Regions from separate parts of the Homo sapiens genome. Here all the other regions are linked to region 2. The links are contacts of gene promoters, found by promoter capture Hi-C in blood cells and fetal thymus (Javierre and others, 2016). All regions are on one chromosome and are shown on one strand. Each heading gives the region's core, a stretch centred on a gene start or on the middle of the fragment in contact. The rest is flanking DNA. Distances are from core to core; before and after follow the strand shown.

Region 1 (2,700 bases), core at 139-2,638, 310 kb after region 2:
ATCCACTCTATCCAATAGTCCCTTCATAGGGTTGGATGCTGCAAGTTGAATGACTTGGTCATAAAGGAGAGAAAACATTTCATAGAGAAGTGTTAGGAAGTTAAAGGTCAAATACAGGACCCATCAAGGAAGCATGAGTTCATAGTATCCATTATCAAGGACTGAGTTGTACAGGTAAAATGATTTCTTTTCAAAAACCATACTCTTCTGTAAGAGGCAGCAGCTCTTCTTAAAAATTGTCTCCTCAACCAGGAGATTCATCTACATAAGGACGAATAAGACAATTTCTTCCTCTAACTCCTTAAATGCCAAGGGATGGACTGAATAATGCAGCTGGGAGAAGGACTGAACCTAACGAAGGCAGGCTTATTTATCCAGAGTCCTGATTCTTCCTATTTTTGCACTCCAGGCTGTGCAAAGAGGGAATCGTTCTCCTCAAACAGAATAAATGCTCATTTGTTTTTCCAGTGCCATGTCAGTGAAACACTTTCTCCCTCTAGCCAAGGGAAAAAAAACTGAACTTCTTAAGAATTTTTGAACAGAGCTTCATAGTGTTATGGATAAAGATATTTTGAAAGAAAAGGCAAATCTAAAAGTGCATGGATATTCCAAGAAAGTCTTTCAAAACTCTGACAAAACGACCCAAGAAAATGCATCTATTATGTGACGAGTATAGAACCAACTTTTAAAATGAACCTACTTCAAAACAAGTGAATCAGGGCTCTTGTTGTGCTTTCTAAAGAAAAAATCATGGAGGTGCATATGTGGGAACACATATTATTTGGGGAGATAACTATTGCTTTGCTTTTTTCCCCTGTGAATGTGAAAGCAATATATAGCATAAATAGCATGCCCATTTTATATAACTTGAAGACTGTTCTAAAATCATATATAGCAATAGTTTTCCACATTAATATGGAGGTGTATCTGACCCTTGCAAAAGAGTCAAGATACTAAAAACTGGCACCTCTCTGTTTTATTATTTATATTTATAAAATAATAAATGTACCCCTGCTTGCACTCATTCTCTCTCCTGCCGCCCTGTGAAGGGCTGCCTTCCACCATGATTGTAAGTTTCCCAAGGCCTTACTAGCCTTGAGGAACTGTGAGTTAATTAAGCCTCTTTCCTTTATAAATTACCCAGTCTAGGGTATTTCTTTATAGCAGCATGAGAACAGACTAATACAATCCCCAACCCAATGATAGCCATTATTAGGTTCCTTTCAGCCTTTTCCCCCATGCATCTTAGCACAACTGTGATGATGCTATGTGTGGCACACAATTTTAAATGATTCATTTTACTATGATTTTATAAAGAGTATTTTTCCATTACAATTATTTGAAAATATGATTCTTAAATTTTGCAAATATTTTACCACTTTCTCTTTTGGTTGGACATTTTTTCTCCAGGAATTCTTTTGAATAATATTTCTTGATTAAATTACAGGAATTTTAACCAGGCAGATACAGGAAAATACTCAGCACACCAAAAAAAAAAAAAAAAAAAAAGATGAGCATTTATATTTGTCCCTGATACCCTGTGTTTCTGCCTACCAAAGTATAAGTCAAGTTCCTCAAATATTTAATATCCTACCATGTTACCTTAGGAAGCATGGTGTGTTCTGGTGGCCTCATGACACTTAGGGTGCTTGTTTTAGTGGAAAAGGAAGGAAGCTGCAAGGGCTTTCACATCAAGGTGATAAGCTAGTAACTCTTTTTTAATGACTTGATTAGAAGATAGATATCACAGAGATGGGGGTATATGTGTGATGGGTTTGGGTACACTCTTGTAAAGGTCTTAAAGTCCCTCTATTGGTGTGACTCCTAACTCAGACTACTGGAAGGAGCAGGAGACTAGTTCCAAAGGCATCTACTAGTGGTCCTTTGAAGAGTTAGAGATTTCACTGGACTACAAGATGCACCTAGTGGTTGAAATGACACATCAAGCAGGGATCTGTAGAGAAACTCAAGATTAGCAACCCAAGACCAAAGGACAGAATAGTGATAAATTCTGGAAACAAGAGTGATAAATTCTGTCCTTTGGTCTTGGGTTACTAGTCTTGAGTTTCTCTACAGTTCCCTGCTTGATGTGTAATTTCAACCACTATGTGTATCTTGCAGTTCAGTGAAATTCAAACTCTTCAAAGGACCACTAGTAGATGCCTCTATTAGTGATAAATAGAGATTAGGGATAAATTCTGTCCTTTGGTATTGATAAATTAGTGATTAATTCCTCTACTCAGTCATTGTTGAGGTGGTTCTACCAGAGGGAGCTGTGTTCAATGGGAGGCAGTTATGCAGCCTCATGCTCTGTCAGGGATACTTGGGAATCCCTGCTATGGGATAGGGTAGAACTTGGACCAATGACATTTTTTCCTATGTATATGTCTTAGAAAAATCCATCCTAGTTGACTCTGTGACTCCTCTCGGCATCCTGACCACTTTTGATTAGATTACCAATGCAAAACCAATTTTTTGACTGGCTAAGGATTTATCACTTGTGGTGTTTGGCCCAAAAGAGGAAGAGATGGCCCCCTCAAATTCCTGTCCTAGGGAATTAAGAGAAACAGTCTGAATCATTTAGTGATGGTTGCTGTGCAGAAAAATAATGATGCCATCTTGAAATTTTCAGTCTATGTACAAGATGAGTACAGCAATAGGAGCTGGCCAGGGGATAAAATGTCTGTGCAGATGGAGATG
Region 2 (2,700 bases), core at 83-2,582:
CATGACATTTACTACCAGGTATCAGAGGAAAAGCATAAGCAGTTCCTTTTCTTGAACATTTGCCTTCTAATTGAATAGGCATTGGAATACACAAAGTAGAGGGTTTTTTTAAAGGATTTGTTCTTTCTTTTATCTACTACAAAATATGAGTATTTCTCAATGATGACAATAATAATTACCATTTATCGAATGTTTATTGTATTCCTGTCTTTGTGCCAACCACCTGACCTCCGTTATCTGAAAAATCTTTCCAACAACCCTATGACATAGATATTGTTATTCTTCATTTACAGGTGAGTAAATGGAGGTTTACATTTGTATGGAACATGTTCTGCTACTTGAGATAATGGGAATAGGAGCCTAGGAGGGCTAAAAGCAAGGAGCCAGCAAGTCTAGACACATTCCAGAGGACATTATGTCAGTCATGCAAGCCCTGCCTCAGCTTTCTTCCCAACCCTCAGCCTTTTTTCCCAACAGTATATAAATAATGTGGTGTTCCTTTCAATACAGGTGTCTCTAATGCTAGTTTGTTCCATTCTTGGTGAAGTTAATTTGAATCACATTTGGTTAGCATGTTTATCAGTTTTTTTCTACTGAGTTTCCTTTTGTGAAGTAAGAACAAATATGTTTATGAATGTAGAGTTAGCTGTGCTAAAATTAAATGAAAAGTCAAGCAAACTACCCAGATAGTTTAAGCCAATCACCCAGGATTTCATGAACCCTTTGAGCCATTTATGTTTCCCTTGAGGGATATTTCACATCTTTTACCTGAGAGTTCTACAGGGCATGCTTTTATTAGTTGAAATGTCACTGAGGGCGAGAGTAATTGTTCAACGGATGTACTTGAACTTGGACATTTAAGAATTAACAGAACGGGCTGGGCGCAGTGGCTCACGCCTGTAATCCCAGCACTTTGGGAGGCCGAGGCGGGAGGATCACGAGGTCAGGAGACCGAGACCTTTCTGGCTAACACGGTGAAATCCTGTCTCTACTAAATCCTGTGTCGGATTAATTCGTTCTACTTGCTATTACCAATAAATAGCATGGGCTCCCAGAGCTATGCCTGGCTAACTCTATCACCTTCAAGGGTTTGCTCAAACTATTCAGCCTACTTTAAGTAAATCAATTTCCAAGGTTACAAAATAAACTTCACGTACATTTTTATGGTTAGGTATTTGCGCGTATTTGGGGGCTCCATAGCTTTCATCCGTTACTCAAAGCGCTTCAGGACGCTAAAAAGGCTCAGAGCTGCTTCGATAAACAAGAAAGAATGCTGCAAGCAAAGGCAGCAGTTTCGCTGTAAAATCCTATTGCTGACAGCCAAGACGGGCGTATTCCCTCGCGACCAGCCTGTGGCGTGGTTGGGGCTCCGGAAGGGCGCGCGCGAGCGCTTTTTTGGGAGGACACCACAGGTGGACGCCTCAGCTGATCGTCCTCCCTCCCGGGGACCCTGCCCCGAGTCGCCGAGTAGCCGCAGAGTCGCCTCCGTCGCCCCGCCGCCCCTGTGTTTCGGACATGGCCGCACGCCTTCTCCGAGGGTCCCTACGCGTCCTGGGCGGCCACCGTGCGCCGCGCCAGCTGCCCGCCGCGCGGTGAGTGCCAGCCGGGACTTCCGCGGCTGCAGGCCGGGAGGCTGTGGGGTGGGGCAGCGAGTCACTCCTGTCGCTGGCTTGAAGCAGGGCGGTGCGCGCGCGGCTGGGAGTGCTCCCCAACTCCGGCGCCGGGCTAGAGCTGGCCTCCTTTCCTGGATCCCGCGGACTGGGTGCAACCAGCATCTGGGCGGAGGAAAAAGGGGTGTCAGCCGTGCCGCCCCGAGAACAGACCGCCGAGCCCACGTCGGGGAAAGCCGAAAGATTTCTCCAGAAGTTCATTCCGGAGCCCCAATCCAACCCGTCTAGTTCAGCGGCCTGCAGTGGGACCCGGGAGCCTGCGTTTTGGGAGGAGGTGGTCACCCCCTGGGCCCGGCTGCAGGAGCGCGGGCTGCGATCTGTGTCCCAGTTCGAGCTGTGAACCCGGCGTTCCCCACGGCTTAGACTCGCCGCGCGGTAGTGAACTTGGGACCCGGACTCAGTGCCCGGGCTGCGGCGCGGACCAGAATTGTCCAGGACAAACTGGGCTAGAAATGACCTGGCGAGGGTTCCATCAAACAAGGAAATTAGCTTTAGATATATCAACAAATCTAACTAAATACAGAGGATTAATGAAGACAGAGTCTAAGTAGTTCAGTGACTACTAAGGTGGTGTTTATAATATGATCAAAAGTTTCAGATACTGTCTGATGCATAAAATCTATTCACTGGGTAAACAAATTGGAAGCATGGAGAATTCATTATTTAATAAGGGTGAAGGAACTGGCAAATTTGCGAATGACAGCATTGGTGTAAGCTACTCTAATTTTATTTGAGAGCTATGAAACAAAATGCCTACTTTTCCTGGGGAGATTTGGGAAGACGTCACTGAGAAGGTGACTTTTCTTTAGGATACATACTTAACTCTTCCTTGGAACATTATAAGACAGTGATCCTCAAACTTTTTTTTTTTTTTTTTTTTTTTTGAGACAGAGTCTCACTCTGTCGCCCAGGCTGGAGTGCAGTGGCGCGATCTTGGCTCACTGCTGCAACCTCCGCCTCCCGTGTTCAAGCAATTCTCCTGCCTCAGCTTTCCTGAGTAGCTGGGACTACAGGCACGCACCACCACACC
Region 3 (2,700 bases), core at 45-2,544, 300 kb after region 2:
TGAGTTGCATGCACTGCACTATAAAGTTCTTTGCATGATTTTAACAGTGTTCACACTTGTAGCCACAGAGCTACACTAAAAAGGAAGAGGAATTTACTTGTCTATTGCTGATGGTCAGTTTTTCCAGAAAATGTCGAAGAACCGTTGATGGATCTTCAATTAGACAGTTCCATAAGACTTGTTGAGCCACAGCACTCACTTCAGAAGAGAAAGAAAGTTGAACATTTGTCTTTAATGGAGTTAAGTCTATGAGATAAAGTATTTGACAATTTACAAGCTTTAGTCTCTGCTTTTTGCCTTAAAAGGCTCTGTGAACTCTTTTTTCTTTTGCAACGTAGGTGTTTGTTCTCTTCGTTGTTGTCTCTGAACATTTTCACATGTAAAGAACAGGTTACCAAAAAGTGTAGGAGTTGTCTTCAGGTATCAGCAATGCTTTTGCAAAGAATATCTCTGTGAATATATGCAATTGTCTTTGTTGTGGAAGTCACCCCAATAATAGCAGCAGTCAGCACTTATTAAATTACAGTCATATTTTATTGTTTATTTTATGGAGAAACTATGAAAGACTATTTGGATTTTGAAAATATGTTTTGGTTTAGAATGCATATGAATTAGGGATTTTTTTTTCTGTCCACATGAGTGCTTCAAACAGTATCTCCTTCAGCAAGATAAAGTAGTTGAGCCAGTAACAATTAGGTTCTCACTTCTAACGAAGAAGTCTTAAGAATAAATAATTAATCCTAATGAGAAAGAAAGTGCTATTTCTGTGGGGAAAGCGGTCAGGCTAAGATTGTCTAGAAGTACCCAGACTAAGAAAGCAAGTGGGTAAAAAACAGGGCCAGTAAGCACTGAATGGTCTTTAGTTTCAACGTGTTTCCCAATTCCATTGGTTTTCAAAAGTAGGAATACAGAATTTAGCATAAATTTATTTCAAATAAATGATACCAAATTTTGATTCAGAAACAAGCCATACAGTTAAAGTTAAAGGACATATAAATAATATTAACAAAAATATAAATCCAGAGCTGTAGCTTTCATGTGTCTCTATAACTAATTAAAATAGGTGTGAGTTTTTCTCAGGTTGATATTGATTGCAAAAATATCTTTACATGTGAAATAAGCCAGGCACAGGAAAACAAATATTGCATGTTTTCACTCATTTGTAGAAGCTAAATAAGTTGATCTCTCGGAAGTGGACAGTAGAATAGTGCTAACTAGAGGCTAGGAAGGGGAGGCGGGAGGGAGGCATGGGAAAGGTTGGTTAATGGATAAGAAATTACAGCTAGATAGCAGGAATAAGTTTCAGTGTTCTTTAGCACTGTAGGGTGACTATAGGTAACAATAATTTATTCTATATTCTCAAATAGCTAGAAGAGAGAATTTTGAGTGTTCCTAACACAAAGAAATACTGTTTGAGGTGAAGGATATGCTAATTACCATGATTTGATCATTACACATTGTATACAGGTACTGAAATATCACTGTACCCCATAAATATGTACAATTATTATGTGTCAATTAAAACTTTAAAAATGTTCATGTTATTTTTATTTTAATTGCTTAAGTAAGGCAGTTTCATGCTTAAAACATGAAAAATACAAAAAAATGCAAAGAGAAAAATAAGACTGGGAAGTCCACTCATCACAGAAACAACTATTAACAGTTTGGAGTATGTCATTTCACATACATGAAATATATATTTACGTGCATTATTTTATTTTATTTTTATTTTTGAGATGGAGTCTCACTCTGTTGCCCAGGCTGAAGTGCAGTGGTGCGGTTTCGGCTCACTGCAACCTCTGCCTTCCAGGTTCAAGCAATTCTCCTGCCTCAGCCTCATGAGTAGCTGGGATTACAGGCACGTGCCACCACGCCTGGCTAATTTTTGTATTTTTAGTAGAGACAGGGTTTCGCCACGTTGGCCAGGCTGGTCTCGAACTCCTGATCTCAAGTGATCTGCCTGCCTCAGCCTTCCAAAGTGCTGGGATTACAAGCATGAGCCACCGTGCCCAGTCTACTTACATGTATTTTAAAATAGTACTATATATAGAAAATATTCTCTGGTATTCGGTTTTTTACTTAGCAATGTATTAACACTTTTTATATTAATATTCATCTAGAATGCAATTCCAGCATTCACAGAATGTTATCATATGGAGGTACTATGATTAACTAATTGCTTATTGTTAGGGATTTAAAGTCTTTCTAAATATTTTTTATTTTAAATAATGATCAGTGTACAATGTCCTTTATACAGCCCTCATGATTGTCTTAGGAAATTGCTAGAAGCCAAATCTGTGTCAAAAGCTTTTCACACTTTTAAGGTTTTTGATACATATCATGAAACTCTGTTCTAGAATGCTTGTACAGAGTTTTATACTTCATCAGCAAAGTATGAGGATGCTCTTTCCCCTGCTTTTTCACCAGCAATAGATATTTTCATTTAAAGTAATATTTGCCGACTTTCTGGCTGAAATGTAAGATTTATTACAGTTTTAAACAACGATGTTGTCTCCAGGTGTTACTGGCCATTGGATTGCCTGCTGATATCCTTTGCCCAGTTTTCTAATGGGGTTTTAAAAAATTATTAGTGAGTTATAAGAGCTTTTTAAAATGTAACGTTAAGAAATTAACCTTTGTCTGTCACAAATGTTACTCATCTTTTCCCTTAGTTTATCGTTTCATTTTGCAATTATTCTT
Region 4 (2,700 bases), core at 133-2,632, 260 kb after region 2:
ATCTTAGGGTTGAAAGAGCCCATAATAGTCATAATATCCTGTAGGCAGTCAGGTTCACACTGGCACCTCTTATTATTATTATTTTTCTAATACAGCTTAAAAGGAAAACGAAAAAATACAGTTTCCCAGGACCTCCAAAAATCTCATAAATAAGACCTTCTGGCCGGGTGTGTTGGCTCACGCCTGTAATCCCAGCACTTTGGGAGGCCGAGGCAGGTGGATCACGAGGTCAGGAGTTCAAGACCAGCCTGGCCAAGATGGTGAAACCCTGTCTCTACCAAAAATACAAAAAAATTAGCTGGGCGTGGTGGTGGGCACCCGTAATCCCAACTACTCGGGAGGCTGAGGAGATTGTGCCACTGCACTCTAGCCTGGGTGACAGAGCAAGACTCTGTCTAAAAAAAAAAAAACAAAAAACTTCTAAGGTCTGGTCTGGGCCCAGAAATCTGTATATTTTTAACTTTTATTTTGGAAAATCTCAAACATATAAAAAGGTAGAGAGATCAGTATATAGTAAGCCCCAAAATACCCATCTCTCAACCTCAGCCTTCCAAGTAGCTGGGACTACAGGTGCACAGCCCCATGCCCGGCTAATTTTTGTAGTTTTTGTAGAGATGGGGTTTTGCTATGTTGCCCAGGCTGGTTTTGAGCTCCTGGACTCAAGCAATCTGCCTGCCTCAGCCTCCCAAAAGTGCTGGGATTACAGGTGTGAGCCACTGTACTTGGCCTACAGTGACTCTTGTTTTACTTATACCCCCAAACACTCCCCCTTTTCCCTACCCTAGACTATTTTAAAGTAAATTCCAAGCATCACATCATTTACCCAGACATATTTCAGTATGTGTCTCCAAATTTATGGACTCAGAAAAATTAAACACAACACAGTATGACATTTAACAAATTAAAAATAATTCTTTTTTAAAAAACCCAAATATTCAGTCAGTTTTCAACATTCACACATTATCTCATAATTACTTTTTTTTAACAAATTAGGAAAAAATAAGGCCCATAAATTTCAATTTGTTGATATGTCCTTAAGTCTCTTTTAATATGTCGATTTCCCCCCTTCTGTACTTGTCTTTTTTTTTTTTTTTTTGAGACAGAGTCTCACTCTGTCACCAGGCTGGAGTGCAGTGGTGCGATCTCGGCTCACTGCAACCTCTGCCTCCCGGTACAAGCGATTCTCCTGCCTCAGCCTCCTGAGTAGCTGGGACTACAGGCGCATGCCACCACGCCCAGCTAATTTTTGTATTTTTAGTAGAGACGAGGGTTTCACTATGTTGGCCAGGATGGTCTCGATCTCTTGACCTTGTGATCTGCCCAACTCGTCCTCCCAAAGTGCTGGGATTACAGGCGTGAACAACCGCGCCCGGCCTTATCTTGTTATTTATTAAAGAAATTCTCTGTAGCAACACTCTGAATTTTGCTGATTGAATCTCCACGGTGTAATTTAATCTATCCTACTGCCTTTGTATTTAATTCGATTGGAAGTTAAATCCAGGGCCTACATCTGCAGACTCAGTTTTGAATTTTTGGCAAGAGTACTTAGCAGGTGGTGTATGTGGTGTGTACTTCCGCCAGGAGGTACAGGATTCCTAGTTGTCACTCTTTTTATATTAGTTGTTCTTAGTCACTGCACAGATCCACTGATGCATTAGGAGTAGTGCAGTGGTAATATCATGTAATTCTTTGTCTCACATATTAACTATAGCATTGTAATAAAGAGAAATTGTGATTACTCCAAGAGAACTGAAGAGTGAATAACTGTTTGAAAGGATCTAGAGGGTAAGAGCTCCTCAGCTGATTTTGATAGGCATCCTGGTTTAGGAATCACAGCCAAGGCCACTACCTCTCTGATTATTTAGATTGTTCTACAATTGCTTTATGTGACTGGCTCCATGGATAGAAAATTCACTACTGTACAAGGCAACTTATTTCATCTTTGGAGGTCCACACTGTGAGAGGTTCCTTTCATGTTAGGCCTCCAAATTCCCTTTCATTTCTTCCTACTAGGCTTAATTCTGAAAGCATAAATCCAATCCATCTTCTCCATCATGACCCTTCATTATCAAGAAATAGTTATTGTCTCTTAATTCCCATTGTCTTCTCTCCAAACTGAACATATTCACATTGTCCTGGAATTCTGTGTGAATGTGGGTGTTTTAAAGAAATCATTTTAAACAGCTTATACATTCTTTTGTTTATCTCTTTCTCATGAATTTGATATACAGAAAATAATTCTTTACTTCTCAGGTTATTTGTGTGACAAATAAGAGTATATCTATATGCACTTATTTCTTTTCTCTTATTATTTTAAAGATAACATTGAGAAGTGCTTGTGAGATAATCAATCTGTCTATTTTGAGCTTCCAAAGACTACGTAGAGCTGAATTTAAGAGCCATTTTATGGATTACTACCTGAATTTCTCTAATTCCTGGTCATGTGACAAAATAAATTTGCTTTGTGCATAAAACAAAATTTCCCTTTCCCACAGTCTTTGCTGTACTATCACATGTATAATCAAAAAACTTTCCTATGGTTCTTTCCCAGTGGGAACACAAGAGATTTTCCCATTGAGAGGGTGAGGGAGAGAGGAAAAGAGAAAGAGAGAAAGAGAATGAGAGAGATAGAGACCACACACGAGAGAGAGACAGACAGAGAAAGAGAGAGAAAAAGAGAGAGAATTTGCAGATTCTATT
Region 5 (2,700 bases), core at 200-2,699, 280 kb after region 2:
AGCTCACTGCAGCCTTGACCGCCTGGGATTAAGCAATCCTCCTGCCTCAAGCCTCCCAAAAAGTTGGGACTACAGGTGTGCAACACCACACCTGGCTAATTTTTAATTTTTTAAAATTTTTGTAGAGACAGGGTCTCACTATGTTGCCCAGGTTGGTCTCAAACTCCTGGGCTAAAGGAATCCTCTTGCCTCAGCCTTCCAAAGTGCTGGGATTATAGGTGTGAGCCACCACACCTGGCCTAAATTTAGTTTCTAAAAGCTTACTTGTCAGAATGTTAGTCTGATATTAATCAGCATAACCTTTGTATTCATTCAATTTTATTTTCTCTGCCATATTTACTTATCACAAGGCACAGAATAAAGGGCTGCAGATACCTTCTGAATGATTCGGGAGCATACGCCACCACAGTGACACAGAGCTTAATGGCTTCACTGATAGAAAATGTCAGATCTTCGTTTCCATAGCAGAAATCTGAAGGAACAAAAAGTAAAGGCAAACTATCAGAGTGGATTTTGCAGGAGATAAAGAAGCACCTATTACTCCTAATGTTATCATTCCAGTATATACTGTAGCCTTTTCTTGTTAAATTTTATTCCTACGCTGTGAAAACTATTAATTTCTTCATCTCAAGGGAACGAAATTCTGTTTTCTAGTTTTGAACAATCAGATGTAAAATAAAAATACTTTTCTGGAGTGTTTAAAAAAATCTCAGATAATAGAAGACACTGAAGGGCATTTAAATTGCCTAAGGTTGAGGCTTTACCCTGGAGTTATCTCTAGTTCTACACATTCCATGATAATAAAAGACCATTTTGGAGAGTTATTCACTTAGAATTACCCAAGATAACCCAACTTTCTGAAAACTGCAGTGCTACAGCAGTGGTCTACTGAGCATCATTTTAATATAGTTTTCATGGCAGAGAATTCCTTACTCTTTAGGATTCATAAGAAATTTAAGAAAAAAAATGTACTCATTCAATTTCTACTACTGTTCCATTTATTTTTGCTACTTTGATTTAGTTATATATACACACACATATAAATATACGTGTATGTGTGTATAATACATATATTTATATTTAACAACTGCAGTGAGAAAAAGAATGTCAAAGCAAGTTTTGCTTTTACCTAATGACTTGAGAGGCTTCTCAGCTTTGACCAGCTCTAAGATGTCTAATATGTCGGTGGTCTCTCCCTCTAGGGACTGCAGCAAGTCAAACAGGCACTGAGCTGACACACCTTTGCTGGGCCCATTATTGGCAGCATCCTGATAAAGAAAAACAATTTTTGTTTATTGACTCCCACCACAGTAAAACTATAACTTGACAGGAATTCAAATTTTATAAATGCTATTACCAGTAACAAGTACAACATCTACCTGGAATTCAGCTTACATAATTCTGGATCCCGCAATGCTGTGGTATGATTTTGGAGTGGTACACCTGACTTTTAAGGGATCTATTAAATTCTAATATAGAACAAAAGAGATATTTGTAAAAGCTCACAAAAATACAGCGATATATGAACTTCCAAAAAGTTCATATCAATGGTTCCTTTAATTGAAGATGGCAGAACTAAGAAAATTTCTATAATTGATTGGTTGAATACTACAAATATGTTTGCGGAATGTATGCTTATTTTAACTAACAACGCTGGGAATTTCACAGGTCTTCTTTGATAATGTATCTCCACATGGAGATACTTACAATTTTAAATCTATTTAAAATGGCTTTAAATAATTCACTGAAACAACAAATCCTTATGATGTTCTTCTGTGCCAAGCACCAGGCTACACACTGAGGTTATAGAAAACCAAAAACAAAATGCAAATAAAACAACGATACAACAATAACTAAAACCAAACAAACAAGCAAAGACAAAAGCATACAAAGGTCTTGCTTTCATGAAGATTAAATTCTGCTGGTTGAGTGTCGTAGAAATTCATGTTAATGAAACAAATAGATATAACATGTGATATGGTGGTAAAATCTCTGAAGAAAAAGAAAAACAAAGCAGGGTAGGTGGTAGAGAGTGACAAAAAGGAATGAAAATTGGGAAACCTTCCTTTTACCGTTTTCTACTTTCCATCTCTTTTATGAATTGAATATTTAAAAAACTGTAGAGTTGGTCTATTTATGTGTTAGGAGCTGAGATGAAAGCTGAAGAGGAATGTTGAAGAGAAATGATATGCTTGTTGAAAGAAATATTATTTATGGTATGCATGTCTCATTGGTTAAAGAAAGAGAGCTCAGAGACTGAATATACAAACTGTCAATGACTAAATCATATATAAAGATAGAACTTTGACCCACAACCTGCAACAACCTGCTCAGGAAACCAACCCATTGTCTACAATAACCAGCTCAGGAAGCCAGCCTAAGTCAGGCTTGTAGGAAGTCAGGCCACTACCTCCAGTGGTAACCAAACAATAACCTCTGTAACAACTGGCCCAAAGTAACCAGGACTGGCATAATAACTGAGAGCTTTCCTAATTTTTGTCCCTGCTTCCAACTTAGGACCAACCAGAGAAAGCCCAATATACACCCCTAACCCATCATATAAGATGCCCAACTACTAGTTAGTTCACCTGCAGCTTCCCCAGGCCAATAGCTCCAATCAGGACATACCTGAAGCTTCTCCTTTTTTCACTATACAGTTTTTCGACTCCTCTGCCTGCCTTTGCATCTCTGCCAAAACAC

Evidence for each region. The method cuts DNA at HindIII sites, captures the fragments that hold promoters and counts their contacts. A CHiCAGO score of 5 or more calls a contact.
Region 1: a fragment that was not itself captured here is called in contact with the fragment with the promoter of ACADL in region 2 in 1 of 17 cell types (neutrophils); the score reaches 5.6 in neutrophils.
Region 3: a contact is called between a fragment that was not itself captured here and the fragment with the promoter of ACADL in region 2, in 2 of 17 cell types (total CD8 T cells and fetal thymus). The highest score is 6.2, in total CD8 T cells.
Region 4: a contact is called between a fragment that was not itself captured here and the fragment with the promoter of ACADL in region 2, in 11 of 17 cell types (neutrophils, naive CD4 T cells, total CD4 T cells and 8 more). The highest score is 13.3, in neutrophils.
Region 5: a contact is called between a fragment that was not itself captured here and the fragment with the promoter of ACADL in region 2, in 11 of 17 cell types (neutrophils, non-activated CD4 T cells, activated CD4 T cells and 8 more). The highest score is 11.8, in neutrophils.

Annotation. Positions count from the first base shown.
Region 1 is chr2:209,909,459-209,912,158 of GRCh38, reverse strand. All of the region lies in intron 29 of UNC80 (unc-80 subunit of NALCN channel complex), which reads right to left. Among named protein-coding and RNA genes, the nearest start is that of RPE, 92 kb to the left of the region's middle. The HindIII fragment of the contact is 5,728 bases long and covers 1-2,700 here.
Region 2 is chr2:210,224,079-210,226,778 of GRCh38, reverse strand. ACADL (acyl-CoA dehydrogenase long chain) reads left to right here and starts at 1,332. Exons shown (of 11, transcript NM_001608.4): 1 at 1,332-1,592. The coding sequence starts at 1,516. The HindIII fragment of the contact is 4,947 bases long and covers 1-2,700 here.
Region 3 is chr2:209,927,369-209,930,068 of GRCh38, reverse strand. UNC80 (unc-80 subunit of NALCN channel complex) reads right to left here. Exons shown (of 65, transcript NM_001371986.1): 37 at 98-198. Among named protein-coding and RNA genes, the nearest start is that of RPE, 74 kb to the left of the region's middle. The HindIII fragment of the contact is 2,030 bases long and covers 280-2,309 here.
Region 4 is chr2:209,963,182-209,965,881 of GRCh38, reverse strand. The region is part of intron 51 of UNC80 (unc-80 subunit of NALCN channel complex); the gene reads right to left. Among named protein-coding and RNA genes, the nearest start is that of RPE, 38 kb to the left of the region's middle. The HindIII fragment of the contact is 3,612 bases long and covers 1-2,700 here.
Region 5 is chr2:209,943,619-209,946,318 of GRCh38, reverse strand. UNC80 (unc-80 subunit of NALCN channel complex) reads right to left here. Exons shown (of 65, transcript NM_001371986.1): 46 at 1,130-1,268; 47 at 376-472. Among named protein-coding and RNA genes, the nearest start is that of RPE, 58 kb to the left of the region's middle. The HindIII fragment of the contact is 2,375 bases long and covers 262-2,636 here.